Linked DNA regions of Homo sapiens: region 1 is linked to region 2. The links are contacts of gene promoters, found by promoter capture Hi-C in blood cells and fetal thymus (Javierre and others, 2016). All regions are on one chromosome and are shown on one strand. Each heading gives the region's core, a stretch centred on a gene start or on the middle of the fragment in contact. The rest is flanking DNA. Distances are from core to core; before and after follow the strand shown. Region 1 has its middle 20 kb from the start of NDUFAF4. Region 2 holds the start of KLHL32 (kelch like family member 32).

What was found. Contacts are between HindIII fragments. The CHiCAGO score rates a contact against its expected background, and 5 or more counts as called.
Region 1: a contact is called between a fragment that was not itself captured here and the fragment with the promoter of KLHL32 in region 2, in 1 of 17 cell types (fetal thymus). The highest score is 6.4, in fetal thymus.

What each region holds. Positions count from the first base shown.
Region 1 is chr6:96,875,666-96,880,028 of GRCh38, forward strand. No RefSeq gene overlaps it. Among named protein-coding and RNA genes, the nearest start is that of NDUFAF4, 20 kb to the right of the region's middle. The HindIII fragment of the contact is 174 bases long and covers 1,779-1,952 here.
Region 2 is chr6:96,922,512-96,926,595 of GRCh38, forward strand. KLHL32 (kelch like family member 32) reads left to right here and starts at 2,217. Exons shown (of 11, transcript NM_052904.4): 1 at 2,217-2,515. RefSeq lists a silencer at 1,944-2,253. The HindIII fragment of the contact is 7,655 bases long and covers 1-4,084 here.

The DNA.
Region 1 (4,363 bases), core at 616-3,115, 47 kb before region 2:
TCAGAATGGCTCGGGAGCTTCCTGGGGCCTAATGCATCAATTGTAAACTCTTCAGCATGGCTTATCAAGTCTTGCACAATTTGGTTCCCCCAGTACTGCTCCAGAAAGAGTAACGTCTACTAAGTGGCAGTGACACTGTAAAGACACATGAGAGAAAAACAATTCTTAGCTTACATGTGCTTTGAACTTTTTCATTTTTAATGGAACACCTTCAATTTATTATTTAAAATGTGTTATATTAATTGTAGTATGATACAGGCTGGATTCTGTCTATGTGGATCTGTTATGGTCTGAAGTGTTCATTTATTCATTCAAAAATCATTTACTGAGCCGGGCGCCGTGGCTCACGCCTGTAATCCCAGCACTTTGGGAGGTCAAGGCAGGCAGATCACAAGGTCAGGGGTTCGAGACCAACCTGGCCAATATGGTGAAACCCCATCTCTACTAAAAAGTACAAAAATTAGCTGGGTGTGGTGGCGGGCTCCTGTAATCCCAGCTACTCAGGAGGATGAGGCAGGAGAATCGCTTGAATCCAGGAGGCGGAGGTTGCAGTGAGTTGAGATGGCACCACTGCACTCCAGCCTGGGTGACACAGCAAGACTCCAACTCAAATAAATAAATAAATATCATTTACTGATCAATTTCTCTGTGTTCTATATTAATGAAATACAGAAATATAAAAGACCAATCTACTGTCAAAGAGGGAAACACCAAGATCAAAAACATATACATAGAGTTTTTCCTTTTTTTACGCTGCATAAAATCCTTCTTCCCTCCAGGGGTACCCACAATAGCACTCCCTGGGGCAGCTGTAATTTCCAAAAAGAGATACATGGAGTGGGATGCTGAAAAGTGTCCTGAAACACATGCCCTTGCATTATAAAATGTTAAGAGAAAAAATAAGGCAAAAACTTGAGTCAGTCTGGTGCTTTCCTCTGTAGGGCCTATGAGGATACATGTTTCTTCCCTCATTGAGTCAGATTTTATGATCATAGTGTCCTCAGATACAAGATTCAAATCATTTTCAAGAGCCTAACATCATTATTTTAAAACAAGGCACTGCCATTTTAAGCAAAACAGATTATGTAAATGTCAGTATATTTTAAAACAATCGAATTTCTCTTTAGCTAGGAACCATTCATTCTGTAAGAGTCTTTTTTCAGCATCTAAGGTTGGTATTGTTGTATACTAGAGAAGCCAAAATTCAGTGACCAGTTTTACTTTTCTGCCAAAAAGCCTGATTATTTTTAAACATTCCTGATAGACATTTTGCATCTCTTTTTCTACTCTGAATTTGAGTCGCAGCCTTCTGGCAATATGATGTTTTCAAGCACAGATTCGATATGTATAAGCCATCCGTTTTTCTGAAGATTTATAATCGGTAATTTTAGAAGGATTCCGGCCTTTATCACATCTTAGTTTAATGAAACATCTATGCTAGTATTTTCTAAAGTTCTTTTGGAAACAAAATCTCCTGAAAGAGTTCCAGCCTGTGAAAGTGAAAAACTCATTTAAATAATCAGTTCCGAACAACATTTCTGTTTATGTTAAGAATGCTGCTCTGATATTTAAAGTGGTTTAAGAAATCCAACCAGTGAATATAAAATTAAGCATAATTTTCTCTCCTCTAAGAGAGCACGGAAGCTCCAGAGAAACTGGCAACTCAGAAGATGTGTGGCACCGTGCCCGCTCCAAGGAGTAATGCTGAATGCTTTTGCATTCAGGTTTTGCAAAAACTTCATGCACTTCAGAACCCATGCTTACTAACTGAATTTTCAAGCTTCTCTTTTCCCCTTTCTTGTGGAAGCCCAACTTCCTGTGCCATCATTGAGCATACTGAGGCTCCCTGATCTTTCTCAAAATTCTACTAATAAGCCAAATGTACAATTTCAAACAAAGAAAGCCATTTTCTGGTCCCAAGGCTAGAGCTTTGAAAGTGTGGAAAGTTCAAAAGCTTAAGTTTTTTATTTGACTCCTTTTGGCTCAAATGTTGAATGGTCATTTAATTATTTTTTAAAAATGTATCCTGTTATTTCACGGGGTAAAAAGGGAACTTCATGAGACTCAGGAAGACAATACCCAAGCAAATGCCTGGGCATTAAAGATTGGATACAGAGAAGGATCTTTCAAAACACCTAGGAGAGCTCTTAATTTACTGATGCTCTGGTTTCACTCACCAAGGTACCATTATCTGTGTCTCAAAGGAAGTGCAGGTTAGAGAGCATGTGGGCCCAGGCCTCTTTGATACAGGGATCACCTTCTGTGGGTTGCTCTCCTTCCAGGCTAAAACCCATCATCTTCGAGGGTTGGAGGGTGTGGGCCGTGGTGGATCCTGCGGGGTCAGCTCCTAGGTTAAAATGTAGGCCCACTTTGGGGGATCCAACCTCATCTTTATGGCAGGTTTTCTTACCGTGGAGTAGGAGGTCTCATACCAGCAAGGACAGAAGTTTTGCCTGTTTCTTTCACAGAGGAGTCTAGTAGGGTAACATCAATCTTTTTCAGCTGTTATTCCACATTTTTTAAAACCACAGTCATCTTTTTGCCTTACATCTTTTTGCTTCACCCACATTTGTTGAAAAACTTTAATGGGTGGCCAGTACAGCTATAAATTACTCTGACTCTTAATTCCATTTTCTTCATAAAATTCAACACTGACTCATTATGGTTTGAAATGTTTATTCAGGATTAGTGAGAAATTACAGCTGGTTAGACAGCCAGAGGGCCTTTTTCATTACAATGAGAAATAAACATTGAATTCTGAGAGTAACAAGCCATGTACTGCCTTGAAACAAGCATGGCATGAATCTGATTTCAGCAAACTCTGAAGCCCTTATTCAGGTTAAAGTGAACCAAAAATGTAGCAGCTCAGGGCTGTGTGCAATTTTAGATTGAGTGTCCTCATTATAGGGTAAAAATAGAAATATCTAGGTAATATTACTGTGTTGTTCTGAGGTAAAGCAAGGAAATGAGCCTCTGTGACTTCAGTTTCTTCTGGAATCCTTCTGAGAATAAGATGTTTATTAAGCTAAGTATACAACATGATGAATGAGGAAGGATAAATGATCGGCTAAATTGTATACTACATTGAAAAAAATAAACACGAAGTTGGAATTTTGAAAAAGGAAAATTAGATTGCTGGGAAAGAGAGGAGTTTGAGTCCTGGAGGAGGAAAATAGCTTAATCTCCTTTCTCCATCCTCTCTGACATATCAGTGAAAGTAAATCAAGACTGCTGCAGATATGTGCATTACTTTAAAACCTTTTTAGCTGTATCTTCATCCCTGGCTTACCCAGCCTCAAAACTATCATTTTCCTCTTTTATTTTTAGAATAAGTAAAAGTATTAATATATGCAAATAGGATTCTTGAAAATCCAAGGAAAAATTCAAACTGCCTTCCTCAAATTCTTGACAACGTTTTATGTCTTCCTTTTCAAAAAGAAACCTACCTTCCTTCTCTCTCTGACAATGAGGAAGGACCATTGTCAGAAGATAAAGGATAAACTTTTGCTGCTCCACCTTCACCTTTTGACCAAAGATGTTTTTAATACTGTTGTGTCCAATTGCTTTGTCTCATTCTTTGATGTTTCAAGTAGGCCAGAACAAAATCTAGACCAGCCCCTCCCAGCTTCCTTCCAAATCCTAAATTAATATAGCAGGGAGTGTGGGGGAGGCTATTTTTCATTTTTCATACCCATAATTGTTTGAAGGGGCACTGTATGGCCTCCAAGTTCTGACTGATAGGGTGTCTGTTTAAAAAGACATTCTATCAGACTGGGTACAGTGGCTTACGCCTGTAATCTCAGCACTTTGGGAGGCCAAGGCAGGTGGATCACCTGAGGTCAGGAGTTCACGACCAGCCTGGCCAACATGGTAAAACCCTGTCTCTACTAAAAGTACAAAAATTATTCGGGTGTGGTGGCAGGAGCCTGTAATCCCAGCTACTCAGGAGGCAGAGCCAGGAGAATTGCTTGAACACGGGAGGCAGAGGTTGCAGTGACCTAAGACCCTACCATTGTACTCCAGCCTGGGCAACAACAGCAAAACACCATCTCAAAAAAAAAAAAAAAAAAAAAAGACATTCTATCACAATCAGCTGGGAAGGAGAGAGTTCAGGAAAGCCCCTATATGACGTCTGGCCACTCAAATCCCTCTCACTCAAAACTGTTAGGTATGGGGTTGGGGGTAACATGTACATTTTCTAGAATCTCAGGTCTCTCTATGAGACCAAACCAATAGGATTAGTTAATTCTGCTTGAAGTCAAAGTCAGTAGAAACAATATTTGAACTGACATAAAGAATAAGAAGGGTTAAATATGGTTAGATATTTACTCGTGTTTTAATTATTATTGTTAAAACCAGATGT
Region 2 (4,084 bases), core at 967-3,466:
AAAAAATCTTCTTCAGCTCATCCCTCATAACATCACTAGATTGAAACAGGAACAATGTATATTTATTGACAACTAAAAGACCTACATGGATTATACCACCTAACACATTCTAGGAGCTCAAAAAATTGCTGAACAAATAATAAGTATTCCAAAAAACAGCTTTTGGGAAGTATTATTTTAAGTCATTTTCTTAATAAGGAGAAAGACTATATATAATGGTACCTAAGAGAGAAATGGTGCCTAACACCTAGTTGCTCCTCTAGGAGTGGAGTAAACTGCAACATATGTTTGTGTTGAATTTTGGTGGCTATTGAATAAACTAATGTCTCTTATTTTAGAGAAATAAAATACTTAAGACAAAATATAAACTTTAAATCAATACTAAGGAGCCATTTAGGAAAATCTTGCCCTCTCTGAACTAGACATTTTACTAGGCATTTACCATTTAAACCTCAACGCCATGTGTCAATGAACAATATTTAGTGAGCCGATACTATGTGGCAGACATTGTGCTAGGGCCAGGAGATACCCTGAGACACTCAGCTTGGGCAGTAAGAGACTCTTCCATAGTCACACAGATGGTGAGTTGGTGGTGTAAATATTCTTTTCCTGTGTAAATGCAATTATAGTCTTTGCTCTATTTAATTATACTAAATAAATAGCTGCTATTTATTCTAAACAGATAATCCAATCAATATAGATGGGCTTAAAATTTTAAGTATTCTCACTTTAGTGACAAACACCTTGGGGATCTTAAAGGACTGTTTTATTTATTGATACCAGTCACTGTCAATATTTTTGGTTCAAAGACGCTTTCATATTCGATTTTCTGATAGAAGACAACGCAATGAAAACTATCAAGTTGCTTATGAAAAATTCTTAGGATGACACTGCACCTAATGTTTGTAGTCAGTTGTTTGTCATTCTTTCCCTTGTCCTATGCTGTGTCCAGGACTGCTAGATAAGTAGGTACCCAGCATCCTAGCGTCCAGATATCAAAACCATGAAAATGAAGCACTACAAGCCAGACAGATAACCTCCAGAGGGAGCAAACGAATAAACCCCCAAATCCTGTGGATCTAGAAGTAGAAAATAATCGCTGAACCACTGATTTGAGACCAATGAGAACATTAAGGACACCTCAAAATAGATCAGGGCACTGTTCCTAGCCCAACTCTGTGGCAGAACATAAACCTGCAAGAAATAGGATTAACATACTATCTTTGCAGTAAGTTAAATCCTGAACTTCTACAAAATACAGTTTACTCCAATTTAGTTACACTCTTCCTGCTTCTGGTGTCTTACCTCCACGTTGGACTAAGGTTTTCAATTCGGTGGTGGAATACTTACCTATTAAAATTACCCACTTTGCTTTAGTGTGAGTTTCTCAGCATGTTTTACACAGGAGTGACCTGAATGACTCGGAAGTGGCACTTGAGTGTGCCAGGCCCTGGAATTTAATGGTATGGTTCTGTGGTTGTTGTCTGTTTGCGGTTTTATTGCTGAATTAGTAGTAACCACAGTAATCACACCCTTTCTCATTTCTCAGGCTTGGGGATTTCGTCCACCTCTGGCGGGTTGGTTCCCCTGACGTTTCTTAAAGTTACTGTGAATTTGTTCTGGTCAGTACCATAGAGTGTATTATCCTAAGGAGGGCCACTGTAGGGCCGCTAGGACTAGAGGCAACTTGAACTTCACAAGTTAGCAGAGCAAGGACTCCCTGGAACACCGAGTTAGGGCCACGGGGTCTGTTTGCTCAGATTGCCCGCCAGCCCTGGGAAAGGAGTCTGGGGGCGAGCAGGCTGGGTTCCCGGGTCTCAGTCGCCGCAGTGGTGGCTACAGACTGCGCATGTGACCCAGGGGCCGGCGACGCAGGTGCCGGAGAGCGAGGAGGAGGGCGGCGTGGAGGAGGGTACTTCCGGGACCGGCGGGCGCGCGCTGGCAGCTCGCCGACGGCGGGGGCGGGGGCGGGGGGCGGCAGGGGAGCGAGCGCGCTGGCGGCGGGCGGTGGCGTTGCGCGCGGGGTGGCGAAAGGATGTGCGCGGGATCGCGGGGGAGGGGGAGGGAGCGCGCGGGCTAGCTGGAGGCGGGAGGGGGCGGAGCCCTGTGGCGTCTGAACCCGCCCCGGGGGTGCCAAGGTGCGTCTCCAGTCTGACGCGACCGCCTGGGGCGGAGTCAGCGGGACGTGCCACCTGCAGTGCTGGCTAGGGCTTTTTATTTACTAGGGAGCAGTTTCCCCGCGCGACAGTTCGGGAGCGCGCAGGCAGTCGCGCGCACACACGCACGCAGGCACACACACACACACACACACACACACACACACACTTTCGCACACACAAACACGCTAGGACGCTCGTCTTCGCTACTGCATCCCCGAACCAGCAGAGCGAAGCTACTGCGGGTTCTGTTAACCTCAGCATCGTGGGGCGAAGCAGAGCCATTGTGCATCAAGGAGAGGCCGGTGCCTGCGCTGCCGTCTCTGGCACCTAACCCAGCAGACCGCTCACCCCATCGGGTAAGCCAGTCTCTCTCCTTGTAACCTGTTCTGCAGACCTGAGGAAGAGGGTGGGAGGCTGCTGGTGCGCCAAGTGGGGGCAGACCCGGAGTTGACATTTCAGGGGCTTGCAGCCCATGCAGCCTCTGCCCGTGTCGTCTAACGGGAGCAGCCACTACTCAGGTTACTTATGCTGCCAGCCCTGGAGTCGCTCCCCCTTTCTTCCCTCCCCCTGAGCCCAATATGTACTGTGCTCCTTGGTTGCCAAGGAGACTTGCTTAAACATCAGCCGTGGGACATCTATTGAAAGAACTGGTTTCTTAAATGATGCCGTTATTTATTTTGATATTTAAAATAAAATATACACTGAGGACCTTTCGTAATTTGGCATTTGTTAATCTGTATTCAGGTGGCGGTTTCATTCAACTTCAAGAAAAGCCGTAATTGCACTATATGGTATGCTTTAAAAAGGATTCGTCAGATGAATTTTTCAACGGATTGTGTCTTGAATCATAATTTACTCCCATTTTGGTGATCTTATAAAGAAAGATGACTGCAGTTTAGATCCCTTCTTCCCCTCTATTTCCAGTTTTATTTTGCAGTTCACTTAGTCGTGATTATTTTAAATTAAAAGCAGATGATTTAATTGTGTTTCCCCACACAAGAATGAGCTTCTATTGTAAATTGACCAGAACAGGAATACGTTTGTGAATTCGTAACGTAAGAAGGTAGCATTCATGACATACATCTTTGCTAGCATTTTTATATCCCCTGCATCAGTATTGAAGCGCAGTTTTTTGCACCTCTGCTCATTTCTGAGAAGATTCTGTTTTTTAAAAAATCTCTTATTGATTATTTTTAGATCTATCTCTATACACAGATAGAGATAGATATAAAATGTGTGCCATGGCTTACTAGAGCTTATATGAAAGTGCAGTGGTTTTTGCTTTTTGTTTTTTTTCTGATGGGACTGGGTCCTCTACTGGAACACTGATAGGCCAATGGAACAGGTCAGCCTAATACCTGGGCTGTCAGTTTTGTTTTATTTTGAGGTCTCGGGTGTCTATTGGGTGAACTTGTAACACAGTACTTGAAGGCATCAGCAATCCAGTAATTACACTTTGCACGAATTTCATGCCTCCATCACAAACAAATGGCCCAGTAAAGATCCACTGGCATTCAAGAATTAATTTTGTTTTCCTTGGATATTTGTTCATCTTTTCTACTTCTTGTTAAATGACCCAAGGAAATAAGTCAAATTCTTCTAATTTAGATTTTAAACTCTGTCATAGAGAGTGTAATAAATAATGTGAGGAGCAAGTAAGCCAAATAATGACAGAGGTAGATAGAGGGGATTTATGCAATTCACAGAGCTTTGGGAGATGAATGATGACAAACATTTTACATTACAGTGTAGAAAGCACTTTTCATATACTTCTTTTTTAATCCTCACAACAACCCTTTGAGGCCAATAAATTACCTTCCATTTAAAGCTGAGGAACCCAAGACTCAAACCTTGCTGAAGGTCACAGCTAGTGAATGGGGAAGCCCTTTCTGGATCCAGTCTCCTTGCCTTTAAAAAAAAGTTGT